Regions from separate parts of the Homo sapiens genome. Here region 1 is linked to region 2. The links are contacts of gene promoters, found by promoter capture Hi-C in blood cells and fetal thymus (Javierre and others, 2016). All regions are on one chromosome and are shown on one strand. Each heading gives the region's core, a stretch centred on a gene start or on the middle of the fragment in contact. The rest is flanking DNA. Distances are from core to core; before and after follow the strand shown. Region 1 holds the start of SLC4A9 (solute carrier family 4 member 9). Region 2 holds the start of PFDN1 (prefoldin subunit 1).

What was found. The method cuts DNA at HindIII sites, captures the fragments that hold promoters and counts their contacts. A CHiCAGO score of 5 or more calls a contact.
Region 1: the fragment with the promoter of SLC4A9 here is called in contact with the fragment with the promoter of PFDN1 in region 2 in 1 of 17 cell types (monocytes); the score reaches 6.9 in monocytes.

The regions. Positions count from the first base shown.
Region 1 is chr5:140,356,209-140,362,871 of GRCh38, forward strand. SLC4A9 (solute carrier family 4 member 9) reads left to right here and starts at 3,986. Exons shown (of 22, transcript NM_031467.3): 1 at 3,986-4,258; 2 at 4,604-4,764; 3 at 5,046-5,159; 4 at 5,600-5,655; 5 at 5,809-5,966; 6 at 6,237-6,324. The coding sequence starts at 4,029. The HindIII fragment of the contact is 10,887 bases long and covers 1-6,663 here.
Region 2 is chr5:140,297,214-140,304,623 of GRCh38, forward strand. It overlaps PFDN1 (prefoldin subunit 1), which reads right to left and starts at 5,888. Exons shown (of 4, transcript NM_002622.5): 1 at 5,828-5,888; 2 at 3,203-3,369. The coding sequence starts at 5,860. RefSeq lists enhancers at 1,717-2,233, 5,625-5,904 and a silencer at 5,793-5,997. The HindIII fragment of the contact is 1,473 bases long and covers 4,816-6,288 here.

The DNA of each region.
Region 1 (6,663 bases), core at 2,736-5,235, 57 kb after region 2:
TGCCACCATGCCCTGCTAGTTTTCTGTATTTTTTGTAGAGATGGGGTTTTGCCATGTTGCTCAGGGTGGTCTCGACCTCCTGAGCTCAAGTGATCCATCCGCATCAGCCTCCCGAAGTGCTGGGATTACAGGTGTGAGCCACCGTGCCCAGCCAATAAGATTTTTTTGTTTTGTTTTTTTAAAGTGTTAAAAACCTTGTAAGGGGCTGGGTGTGGAGGCTCATGCCTGTAATCCTAGCACTATGGGAAGCCATTGGCTTGCACCCAGGAGTTCGAGACCAGCCTGGGCAACATATGAGCCCCTCTCTACAAAATATTTAAAAGTTAGCCAGACTTGGTGGCACGTGCCTGTAGTCCCAGCTACTTAGGAGGCTGAGGCAGGAGGGTCACTTGAGCCCAGGAGTTTGAGGTTGCAGTGAGCTATGATTGCTACTGCACTCCAGCCTGGATGGCAGAGTAAGACCCTGTGTCAAAAAAAGAAAGGAAGAAAGAAAGAAGGAAAATTTAGATTCAGCAAAGATAAACCTCTTCTCCACTTGCCGAAAGTGAGCAAGCCAAGCATCCTATTCCTGAGGCCACTTCCTCTCACTTAAGGTCCAGTGTACTGCATGAAAGTATGATTTGAACCTTGGAAATAATCTACCCCAACTGTCTCCACTTACATGTAAGAAAATGGAGCCTTGGAGAAGGGAAGGGTCTTACTCAAAGACATCCAATAAGTCTGTGACTAAGCCAGGATGAGAACCCAGTCTTTGAACTCCTAGGTCAGGGTTTTTTCCAGCGCCCACACACAGGGCTGCTCACCCACACAGCACATCTTCCCTGGGCCTTGTCTGGGAGACCACTGGTGCCCACAGGCCAACCCTCACCAGCCTACCCAGCCCAGGGCACTCAGGCCCAGAGGTGGAAGTGAGACCTGGGGAGGGTGGAGGCATGGTGGCCCCCTATTCCAGGCAGCACTGTGAGCCAGGGTAGTTGGGGCCACAGAAAGGGCAAGGATAGACACTCTGAACTTTGGCAGGAGTTGGGTGGGAAGGGAACATGTATGTATGTGCATGTGGGGGAGGTACTCACGCCAAATCCTTGCTCCCATCCCCCTCAGGCTCCTTTGAGTCACTTGTCCGTAAGGTTGGGGCACATTCTTGAAGGGAGTGGTCACAGGGGTTCAAGGCCCATTCAGTCCGCAGGCCAGTTTCTATTCCTCCTGGCACTGAAACCACCTCCTCACTCAGACTCAGCACCCCTCCCCAACTGGAAATATAGTGACATGCTCTTCTAATTCCTGCCCTGGGACCTCCTTGGACCAGACGCGAGGCTGGGGGTAGGGCCGGCCTGGGTGCCCTTTCTCAGGGGATGGATTCTTGGTATTCAATATGTGGGGTGTGGCTGACCTACATTCAGATGAGCCTGATTGGCCCTCCCTTCCCCATCCTGTTGTTCTTCCCCAACCCCCCATCTCTCCGGGCCATTCCGCGGTGGGCCAGGGCAAGGCTGAGGGTTTAGGATCTCTCCCTGCCATCTGGGCATCTCCATCTCTGCGCCCCGGCAGGTCTGCAGCCACTGGGCCTAAGGGAGCGGCCCTAGCAATCCGGTCTGAGGGGAGCAGTGCCCTCGTGTGGCCTCCAGGAGAAGCGCGGCTCTTTTCTCAGCCCGGTCCTTTGTATGCTCTCATTGAACAAGTATTTATTGAGAGCCACTACGTGCCAGGCGCCGCTCTAGGCGCCGCGGCCAAGACAGATACCTGCTCCACGGACTGTGCATTTCAGCGTGTGCGTGCGTGGACAGTCAGGCAATAAATGATAAACAAATACATAAATGAGGCAGTTACTAGTAGTGGTAACTGCTAGGAAGAAAATAAAACAGAGAAATGTGATGGAGAGTGACCCAAGAGAGAAACTTAGGGTAGGATGGGCCGGGCGCGGTGCTCACGCCTGTAATCCCTGCACTTTGGAAGGCCGAGGCGGGTGGATCACGAGTTCAGGAGATCGAGACCATACTGGCTAACACGGTGAAACTCCGTCTCTACCAATACAAAAAAAAAAAAAAAAAAAAGAAAGAAATTAGCCGGACGTGGTGGCGGGCGCCTGTAGTCCCAGCTACTCTGGAGGCTGAGGCAGGAGAATGGCGTGAACACGGGAGGCGGAGCTTGCAGTAAGCCGAGATCATGCCACTGCACTCCAGCCTGGGCAACAGAGCGAGACTCCGTCTCAAAAAAAAAAAAAAAAAAAAAAAAGAAAGAAACTTAGGATAGGATGGAAAAGGAAGATTTCCGTGAGTAGCTAACGTCTGAGATGAGACCTAGGTCACAGATTGTCATGTAAGGATATGGGGGAAAGGCTTTCCTTACAGAGAAAATAGATCCTGCAAAGATCCTCAGGCAGGAACAGGTTTTGCAGAACAGGTGAAGGCCAGTGTGGTTAGAAAGGAGTGAGCGAGGGGAGGCTGGTGTGAGATGCCGTCAGAGAGGTGGGTTGGGGCCAGGGTGTGAATCTTGCAGGCCACGACAAGGAGCTTGATTTTTTTTTCTTCTTCTTCTAGGAGTAATGGGAGTGTGTTGGGTGAGTATTGAACCGAAGAGTAATGTGGCTCAACTGCCTTTTGAAAGGACATGTATGGTGTGGAGGATGGACTTTGGGCAAGGGAGGAAGAGTGGAAGCAGGGGGGTTATTACAAGAGACCAGGAAGCTACTGAAATAATTCAGGTGAGAAATGATGGTTGTTTGAATCAGGGTAGCAGTGCTGGAGGTGGGGAGATGTGGTTGGATTATGGGTATATTTTGAAGATAGAGTCAACAGGATTTGCAAATAATGGACCACATTTTCCTTTGCTCATTTAGCTCCAGGAACTCCTTCACTTACACCCCCTAGTGGGCTCCTCCATCCTCACAGGGCAGATCCCAGGGACACAGCTAAATTAGGGAATTCCTAAGTGTTGTTGGACAAAAGAATTTAAGACTCGTTAGCTGGGCAGCCAGGCACAGTGGCTTACGCTTGTAATCCTAGCACTTTGGGAGGCTGAGGCGGATGGATCACCTGAGGTCAGGAGTTTTTGAGACCAGCCTGGCCAACATGGTGAAACCCTGTCTCTACTAAAAATATAAAAATCAGCCAGGCCTGGTGGCACATGTCTGTAATCTCAGCTACTTGGGAGGCTGAGGCAGGAGAATCACTTGAACCCAAGAGGTGAAGGTTGCAGTGAGCTGAGATCACACCACTGCACTCCAGCCTGGGCGACAGAGCGAGACTCCGTCTCAAAAATAAAATAAAATAAAATAAAAGACTTAGCTGGGCATGGTGGCGTGCACCTGTAGTCCCAACTACCTTGGAGGCTGAGGTGGGAGGATCACTTGAGCTAGGAGGTCAAAGGTGCAGTGAGCTATAACTGTGCCACTACACTCCAGACTGGGTGAGAGAGTGAGACCCTGTCTCAAAAAAAAAGAAAAGAAAAGAATTTAAGACTCAGACACTAGGTCTTCCACCATTATCCCATTTAATGGGCAGGTCCTCTGCCTGCTATCTCCCTTACCCTGTCTGGCTTCCATGGACTCAATTATTTATTAGGTCCCTGTTTGTCCAAATAGGTGTGTCTGTGGCCCCAGGGGTGTGTTGGTGACACCCAAAACAGTCCTGGGTGTTTGGTATTTATATTTGATACAAGTGAGGGGGGCAGCAAAATCTGGGGGTACCAAGTCCTCAGACCCAAGCCAATCATTTACTCCTGTTTCTTTACACAAAACACAGTGGGATCAGACCTGATACCACAGGAAATGCACATACACATTTTGGCCCCAGGTTGGGCATTTCTGGAGAGCCTGGGAAAGGCCAGACTAGTCTTACAAATACTCTTATGCCAGCAGGGGGTGGGGTAAGCAAGTAGGGGAGTAGGTGACCGGTAGAGTCTGGAGTCAGCAGGCCTTGTTCTGTTTGTGTTGTGCTGCAGTGGGGGATGCATTATAAATGCAACCAGCCAGAGGGCCCCTGGCTTCAGAACCTAGGACTGTACTGGTTCTGAGATTCTGTGCAAGCCTCATGGAAATGAAGCTGCCAGGCCAGGAAGGGTTTGAAGCCTCCAGTGCTCCTAGAAATATTCCTTCAGGGGAGCTGGACAGCAACCCTGACCCTGGCACCGGCCCCAGCCCTGATGGCCCCTCAGACACAGAGAGCAAGGAACTGGGAGTACCCAAAGACCCTCTGCTCTTCATTCAGCTGAATGAGCTGCTGGGCTGGCCCCAGGCGCTGGAGTGGAGAGAGACAGGCAGGTAAGTTGGATGCAGGCCAGTTCTGTGGGATCCTTCCCCTTCCCCAGCTGGAGCCTCCTATATGTCCCCCAGCGCTTCTTATGGGGCTGCCCAAAATTAGGATTTTCCCAGCTGTGTTCCCTTATTTCAGGGTCTTACCTTCCATGATGCCCAGCCTCCTCTGCAGTCTAGTTTTGAGATCCCCAAGACCCTAGATGAGGGGTGACTGCCAGGGTGGGGGGGAGACTTCACACCACTGGGCCCAGGATGCCCTCATTGCCTTGCCTTCCCTAGCTCCTCTGCATCTCTGCTCCTGGACATGGGAGAAATGCCCTCAATAACACTGTCTACCCACCTTCATCACAGGTGGGTACTGTTTGAGGAGAAGTTGGAGGTGGCTGCAGGCCGGTGGAGTGCCCCCCACGTGCCCACCCTGGCACTGCCCAGCCTCCAGAAGCTCCGCAGCCTGCTGGCCGAGGGCCTTGTACTGCTGGACTGCCCAGCTCAGAGCCTCCTGGAGCTCGTGGGTAGGCTGGGATCCTTTGCAGGAAGGGCCTGGGTAGCCATGCCTTTTCCCCAGGATTTCCCCTCCAAAGTCTTGAAATCTTCCAGAGCCCATCCCTACCCCTCCTAGGATTGTCTACCCTTGTCACAGGGTGGACATGGAAAAGCAGGGTGGAGGAGCAAGTTCATTGGCCCTGGCATTCTGAGACTCCCAGAAGGGAAAGGTGTCTGGGCAGAGGGAGAAGGGGAAGAGTGTGCGGCAGGGAACTCTCAGGAAGGAGATGACCCCCAATCCATTCTCCAGAGCAGGTGACCAGGGTGGAGTCGCTGAGCCCAGAGCTGAGAGGGCAGTTGCAGGCCTTGCTGCTGCAGAGACCCCAGCATTACAACCAGACCACAGGCACCAGGCCCTGCTGGGGTGAGAGCCCCTCCCTGGGCCCAGGACCAAGACCCTGGTGTGGCAGGGTCTCAGATCTCCCCTGCACCTTCCAGGGCTAGAAGTAGCCCAGGCTTAGTTCAGGCTCCAACCCAGGACTCATGAGCAAGAGGAAACTGGTGGTAATGTTGTGGGGAGAAGATTCAGGGGGCTAGAATCGTAAGAGAGTTCTGTGAAGACATGTACTTGGTAGGCACTAGGCCTACCATTTGATCTTCACAGTATCTCATTTGATCTTCACAACCACCCTGTAAATAGTACCACAATTATCCCCATTTTAGTGGTGAGAAAACTGTGGCTCAGAGTGGAGAAGGGTATACTCTAATTCTTACAGCTTGTCAGTGGCAAAAGTGATTAGGGAATCCTGGTGGATCCACCCCCAAAGCCTGTGGTCTTAATCACTGCATAATCCTGTTTTGTAGGCTCTACTCATCCAAGAAAGGCTTCTGACAATGAGGAAGCCCCCCTGAGGGAACAGGTTTGTGGCCCTTCCTTGGGGTCCCTTTCCAGTGGCTGGGAGAGGGGTTAGAAATTAACAAAAGTCTACTCTCCACTGGATTTCTCATCATTTGAGATCTTATCCTCCCCAAATAACCTTTCATATTCTGTGTCTCCTTGAACCCCCATCCAGTGTCAGAACCCCCTGAGACAGAAGCTACCTCCAGGAGCTGAGGCAGGGACTGTGCTGGCAGGGGAGCTGGGCTTCCTGGCACAGCCACTGGGAGCCTTTGTTCGACTGCGGAACCCTGTGGTACTGGGGTCCCTTACTGAGGTGTCCCTCCCAAGCAGGTGAGGCTACTGAGTGAGTGGGAGTCAGGGATCCCAGAACCTAGAAGGGTCTTTACTGAGGAGGGGAAGGAGGGTCTCAGTCTGATTCTCTGAGGCTGTGGGGAGGATGGTGCTCAGGGGTCTGGGGAGAGAGTAGTGGTCAGGGCTGCATGGTAGGTGTGCAAATGAGTGTGTTTATGGGAGCTGATAGGTCAGAGCTGAGCATCAGAGGCCAGGGCTGCCCTGTGGGAAAGCAGCCTGTGAATCTCTGGGGCCTGGTTCCTTCCTCAGGTTTTTCTGCCTTCTCCTGGGCCCCTGTATGCTGGGAAAGGGCTACCATGAGATGGGACGGGCAGCAGCTGTCCTCCTCAGTGACCCGGTGAGCTGAGCAGGTGTGTGTGTGTGCGCGCGCACGCGTGCATGCCTGTGTGTGTGTGCACACATGCATACATGCATGGGCTCATGTGAGTGTGTGTGTGTGGACTCTGTATGTGTCCCTAAATACAGCAATGAGGCACAGTGAGCACTGAGACTGAAGTTTCCTCGTCTCCTAGTGCAGCCCCATTACTGGATGAGTGCTGGCACACTGTAGGCACTCAATAGATACCCACTGAATGAATGAATTAATGCATGCATAAAGGAATGTGTGAATGACTTGTCTGCCTCTGTGACTTGTGTCTGTCTAGTTTTGAGACTATGAAAATGCATGTAAGAGACC
Region 2 (7,410 bases), core at 4,638-7,137:
TGAAAATTTGGGAAAAAGTAATATTCTAGTCAGAATTCCCAAATAACACTCAAAATGGAAAAGAAAAAACAAAGTAAGGTAAAGACTAGAATTAAAGAAGTGAATCACAATGATACCCAAAATTACTCGACTATAAATTCAGAAATAGATATCTCAGGTTTAGCATCAAGAAAGAGAACATCCTCATGACCAGACTAATACTCAGCAAGTCTTTTCTTCCTCTCAGGGCACTAATACGCTAGCCAAACAACAAACGCTATTCACCTTACATGCCCCTACAATACAGGGTCAAACTCATACTCCCGGTGAGATGCAGACAGCACTAAAGTCAAATTTAAAACAGAAGTCTGAAATCATGTAGAAGCTCAACTTTATCCAAACATTTAAAACTCCACACTTCTTTTAAGAAACGTAATTTATATGAAATAAACCTTCTGGAAATAATACCATTCTACTATTTATTAATTCATATCCTAGCCTTTAAACTCCAAAATTCTTGGTATGGAAAACAACTTATCTGTAGCACTTTGGAAAATATGTACAAAAAACAACTCTCCTAACACTTCTGCAGAACGTTTAATAAATGAAACTATTCTAATTAAAAATTAAAACTTCACTGTAGCTCAAAAGCCCAAAGGGAGTAAAACGTTTTTTCTATTTTGAAAAAGGAATTCTTTAGCTATTGCAAACAAAGGCTAGCGCAGTGATGTGAAATCCAAGTACAACATGTTAATAAAGCTGGCATTACTGTTTTAAGACCTAAGGATATTCACATTAAGGATAAAATTATCCTGTAGTGAATGCCAACAATGCATTTCATACTACACAGACACATATTCAAGGGTTCTACTTTGTTCCAATTCTTTTGTGTCCCAGTAACAAACTCTCAAATTGGGATCCTTATCCTCTTAAACTAAAATGAAATATATGAGCTTGGACATAAAATTTACTTGTGCTACATTATTCATTCTGAGAAAGCAAATCAGATGAACAATTTAACATAATCTAATTCTGAACCATAAAGATATGGATTAGTCAGTGATGAGCAGGTCTACTTCTCATGATGTCATTCCAAAGTCATTATTAAATTTTACACATGTTATTCTTTCTTCAAATCAATCACAAAACAAGTCATCCCGAGACTGAGGTCAAATTCCATTCTAACTAAAAGATCTCCAAATCTGAAGTAATGGTCTACTTACTAAGTAATACTCAAAGACCAAATTCCAGAAAAACCCTCCTCCTGTACCTCCCCCCAACTTAAAAAAAAAAAAAATCAGTCTTCTCCTTTTAGCTCACTGTAATGGAATGTGACCTGTACTTAAGGGCTTTTCCATTCCTTTTTTTCTGCTTACAGAATATGAAGCAGACCTATTCTCTCTCACAAGGGCAATATGCTTTTAAAAGAAAAAAAAGTGAAATGTACGAAGTTAATAATGTATTAATTAGAACAAACAAAAGTAAAATAATTTACTAGATTTCTCACATGTGAGTTGTCCTCCTATTAGAACAATGCATGACACTTAGAATGAGTGTATTTTTTACTTTTTTTTTTTTTGAGGCAGAGTTTCACTCTTGTTGCCCAGGCTGGAGTGTAATGGCGCAATCTCGGCTCACTGCAACCTCCACCTCCTGGGTTCGAGCAGTTCTCCTGCCTCAGTCTCGTAACTGGGATTACAGGTGTGCGCCACCATGCCTCGCTAATTTTTGTATTTTTAGTAGAGATGGGGTTTCACCATGTTGGCCAGGCTGGTCTCAAACCCCTAACCTCAGGGGATCCACCCACCTTGGCCTCCTGCAGTGCTGAGATTACAGGCATGAGCCACTATGCCTGGCCAGAATGAGTGTATTTAAATGACAATTGAATTTTTATTTTTATTTTACAACACTGATCAGACATCTGAAAGATTTATGATTTGTATCACTCCTAATAAATTAAGCAGGGAAGAGGAGGTTAAAACTGCACCTACTTAAATAAATCTTCTTCACATACAATATAATATTGCTATAAACATTTTCCATGACAAATCATTTTTATTACTGAACTTACACTTAAGTACCTAATCATAGACAGAACAGGAAAGTAAGCACTTAAGAAATGTACTTTGAGGCCAGGGGCGGTGGCTCACGCCTGTAATCCCAGCACTGTGGGAGGCCAAGGCGGGCGGATCAAGAGGAGAGATTGAGACCATCCTGGCCAACACGGTAAAACCCCATTTCTACTAAAAATACAAAAATTAGCCGGGCATGGTAGCATGCGCCTGTAGTCCCAGCTACTCAGGAGGCTGAGGCAGAATTGTTTGAACCCAAGAGGCGGAGGTTGCAGTGAGCCAGAATCACACCACTGCACTCTAGCCTGGCAACAGAGCGAGACTCTGTCTCAAAAAAAAAAAAAAAATGTACTTTAAAGTCTAAACTTAAACACTTTAATTAATCTACCTGAAGTTCAGCTCCTCATTTTAAAAAAAGAAAGCATTTAATTAGATAATCTTTAAAGTTATTTCTAAGATACTTTAACCTGCCGGGTGTGGTGACTCATATCTGTAATCCAGCACTTTGGGAGGCTGAGGTGGGCGGATCAGGAGGTCAGGAGTTCCAGACCATCCTGGCAAATATGGTAAAACCCCGTCTCTACTAAAAACACAAAAATTAGCAGGGCGTGGTGGCAAGCGCCCGTAATCCCAGTCACTCAGGAGGCTGAAGCAGGGGAATCGCTTGAACCCAGGAGACGGAGATTGCAGTGAGCCAAGATCGGGCCATTGCACTCCAGCCTGGGCGATATAGCGAAAACTCCGTCTCAAAAAGAAAAAGATACTTACTTTAAACCAAAGTTTCTTTTGTTTTGAGACAGAGTCTAGCTCTGCTGCCCAGGCTGGAGTGCAGTGGCATGATTTCGGCTCACTGCAACCTCCACCTCCGGGGTTCAAGCGACTCTCCTGCCTCAGCCTCCCAAGTAGCCAAGACTACAGGCAAGTGCCACCATGCTCAGCTAATCTTTGTATTTGTGGTAGATACAGGGTTCCACCATACTGGCCAACAGGCTGCCCTCAAGTGATCCACTCGCCTCGACCTCCCAAAGTGCCAGGATTACAGGCATGAGCCACCACTCCTGGCCTAACCCAAGTTTTAAGATGAACAAATTCTATTTAACTCGGACAAAAGCACTCCCAAAATAACTCCATTAAGGACACATTTTACTTACATTCTTCCTACACCTTCATACATGTTAGTCTCATCTACCAAAGTCATGATCTCTGTATCTGTAAGATGTGCATGCTTTTTCGTTCTGTTTAGCTGTTCAATCTGTATGTCTGCGAGCTTCACCTTCTGTTGAGTGTCAATAACTTTGGCTTGAAGCTCTGTGAAGGCCTAATAAAAACAAGTCCATGATTTAGTAGGTAAAACATTTTACAGGAAACATTTACCTCAAATCCAAATATATTAAAACAAAATATGCTAGCCAGAGACAAAGCTGTGAAATTTACCAAACATCAATAAAAGTCAACATAACTGTAAACAATCAAGTCACCATACTAAATACTGAATTTACAATCATCAGAAGATACAATCAGTGTGAAGCAAATCAAATGCATATTAAGTAATAACCATATTAAGTAGCAAGTACTCAAGGAGTAGTAAAAGAAATAAATGCAATAGTCAAGGATGAAATCCAGAGATTCAAAACAAGAACCATAAAAGTAATAACTCACTACATTTGTATTGCACAATTAGGTTTCAAAGCACTTTCTCACATTAGTTTGAAATATTAACATGGGAATATTAATATAAGAATATTAATGAGGAAATATAATAAATATCTCATTTATGCCTCTCAGTAATTCCATGAGTTAGCATTGGCAGTCTCATCATCCACAATTTACAAATTAAGTAACCAAATGAGTTAAGAGATAAAAGTGGCTTGCACAAGGTTGAACAACTACTGGGGGGAAGGCAGGTGTTATTTAAATCCATTTCTTCTAACCCCTTAGTTCAGCAATCTTTCCATTCCACTGTCTATAGTAATATTCATAATATGAACATTTTTAAGAGGAAGACCAAGAAAGAGAGTGAGAAAAAATGCAAAGCACTGGCAAAAGAATTGCATCATGATCTTCATCCACAGATACCAGGCCAAATTTGACCCTTGCGTACACTTACTTAACTGGAAGATAAACAGTTCTTGGATACTTTTGTTGAAGTGCCTGGAATGACTTTCACATGCTGTTAAATTTGTGCCTTAATAACATCTGTGACTGCAATGCACAGCAAAGGCTACTACATAATTTTTATTGTGACCTTGTTTTCACCTACTAGTAAGGTTTTGAAAGATTTACTTTGGGGAAGGGGAGGGGCCTGAAATTTCCTATTTGTCTCCACCCAAAAAAAGGACCCTGTAAAAACATTAGAAGATAAAACCTTTAAACAAGTTTTTTAATTAATTGGTTATCAAAATTATTCATTTTAAGTTTGTAATCATTTTCTTAGTTTGCATTCACCGCCCGCAAGTTTCAAATGTAGCAATAAATTCAAAAGTACCGGGAGGCAAATCCATTCACTAAACCCTGATTTAAATCGGTACTTTTAACAGAAGAAAAGGTAAATTTTTAGAATGCACAATTTTGTTTTGAAATGTAAAATTCCAGGTATCATCTGACTGCTCTATACAGCTTGCTAAGGAAGCTAGTATACCATTAAAGATGAGCTAGTATACTGTTAAAGATTAGAGACTCCACCTAAGAGCTAAATTTACAAGATTCAAGACAAGAAGAACAAAAGCAAGACACAAACACATAATATCCTCACAACACTAACAAAAGCTTCATTTGTTAGAAGCAACAGCTATTTCGGCTGTCCTATTTCTTTTACACAAGTTGACCACAGGCAGTCTTAACTAAGATGTTGCTCATCTGAAGAACTCAAAATAGTGGTCAAAAAAGTGTGAGATAAGGCAGAGAATACTGGATTCTAGTCCCAACTTCTGACAGACTTTTCTGGCACTGGTTCCTTTTCCAGAAAAGTAGATTTAAAATAGATAAATTCTAGGGTCCTTTCCAATCCACCCCACCGCACAAAGCATACTGGTTTGGGGTCATTAGTGGTGTTAGAATGCTGATCATTCTTAGATAGCAAAAATCTGAATAACAACACATTTATAAGCAACTGAGGAAAACAGGAAACCCAATTCCTTCCGATACCGGTTTTATTTGGAAAACTTTACTGGTTTTGTTTTGTTTTTGACAATTCCTTCAAAAGAAGGAGGTTTTGTTTTGTTTTGTTTGACGAGTCCTTCAAAAGAAGTGGAGGGGGGGCAAAATCCTGAAATGAACATTGCTGCTACAATGCTTGGTTTTCCGAACTGTAGATATTGCAACTTTCAAGGTACAGAACCGAATAAATGGCCTAAAAACAAAGGTTGGACTTGGAGTTTTTCAAAGCAAATGAGGCAGAATTACGGATGCCACAGCTCAGGCAAGGGGTCCGAAGGGACCCCCATTTGAAATGCTCTCTTTAGTTCTTACTATGAAAGTGAGTCCCTGAAGCCTCCAAACGCAACGAAATGTCTCTGGAGCTCAGAAAGACTGGACAAGCCCGAGACAGGCCCGCAGACTTACCCGACCCAGACCAACCGGCTCCTACCCAGCAAGAGCCGCTCGCCCCCCACCCCGTTTATGGAGACCCAGTGAGGCCTTAGGACTCTGGGAAACCATTCCCTAGTCCACTGGACCCTCCTTCCTTCTGCAAGGCTCGTGCCTCACTTGATATTCTTGTCTATAGTCCCCTCAGCCTCCAAAAAGAAGACCTCCGCCTGCCAAAGACCCTCTTTTACCTTCTTCAGCTCTAGATCCACGGGGGCGGCCATCTTGGTGCACTGTAAGCGCCTGCGCAGTGGGAGTTGGACTGAAATAGGGTGGGGAAGGGCGCGTCTTACTTTGTGCGCCGGTCTTTCTTCTGCGCCTGCGCATGAGTTGGACTAACCGGGCTTCTTATCTTTCTCTGAGAATTGACTCCTGAAATATTTGGGTTTCGGATTCCGTGTCTTCACTACCTGACCGGTCAGGTCTGGCTTGCTCCTCCGTATCTTCCAGACATAGCCCAACGCGCAGATTTCCCATGTGGCTTTAAGCAGTTTGCCAGCTAGCTTAATATGTGCTGCTAAATTGAGATGTATGTAGATGAGGTCAAACCCTCATCAGTCGATCAGTCCTTCAGCTAGTCGCTGTGCTCTCAGGAATGAGTAAGAGTAAGTCCAGAACCTCAGGCATGACAGTTTGGGAAAGACTATTGGAAAGCTTGTCTGGAGTGTTCTTTCCAAAACGAACTTATTACTTCCAAAAGCTTCCCAAAGACATTCTAGGCACAGTGGTTCTCAAGAGAGGCTGAATACGTTTGTTTAAAAACAAAAAAATGCAGGTTCTCTGGGTCTCATCTCAAACGTACTCAGAATCTTTGAGAATGGGGTCTGGAAATTTGCACTTTTGCAGACTACCCCAGTGACCTAATGGTGCAACTCCTCCGCGGATCACTTTTTTGAGAATCTCTGCCATAAAAGGACCTGGCATTTGAACCAGAATAGATAATAATTGACTTTTGGAAATGGAAAAAAAAGTTAACCTACTCTAAAAACTGTTATGCTAAGAGAAAGTGCTACATAAATAATTAGGAAATTTATTTTATTTTTTAAAAAAAGAAAGAAAGAGAGAAAGAAAACAAACTGTTAGGGAGATGAAAGGGCAGGGAATTTGGAACCAGCCTAATCTAGATTCAAGGCTTGGTCTGCCTTTAGCCTATGTCTGGTTCCATTTACTAATTGTGTGACTTTAAGCAAGTCACTTGGATATTTTGTGGGGTTTTTTTTTTTTTTTGTACGTTTGTTTGTTTCTTGAGACAGGATCTTGCTCTGTCACCCAGGCTCGAGTGCAATGGTGCAATCACGACTCACTCCAGCCTCTACCTCCCGCGCTCAAGCGATCCTCCCACCTCAGCCTCGTGAGTAGCGCTGGGACTACAGGCGCGCGCCACCCACACTCAGCTAATTTTTATATTTTTGTACAGACGGGTTTTCACCTTGTTGCCCAAGCTGGTCTCAAACTCCTGAGCTCAAACAATCCGCTCGCCTTGGTCGCCCAAAGTGCTGTAGTGCTTTGATATTAAAGGCTTGAGCCACCGCACCCGGCCACATTTTTTTTTTTTTTTTTTTTTTGAGCCAGGGTCTCGCTCTGTCACCCAGGCTGGAATGCAGTGGCACGATCTCGGCTCACTGCAACCTCTGCCTCCCAGGATCAAGTGATTCTCCTGCCTCAGCCTCCCGAGTAGCTGGGATTACAGGCGCCTGCCACCACGCCCGGCTAATTTTTGTAGTTTTGGTAGAGACGGGTTTCACCGTGTTGCCCAGGCTGGTCTCCAACTCCC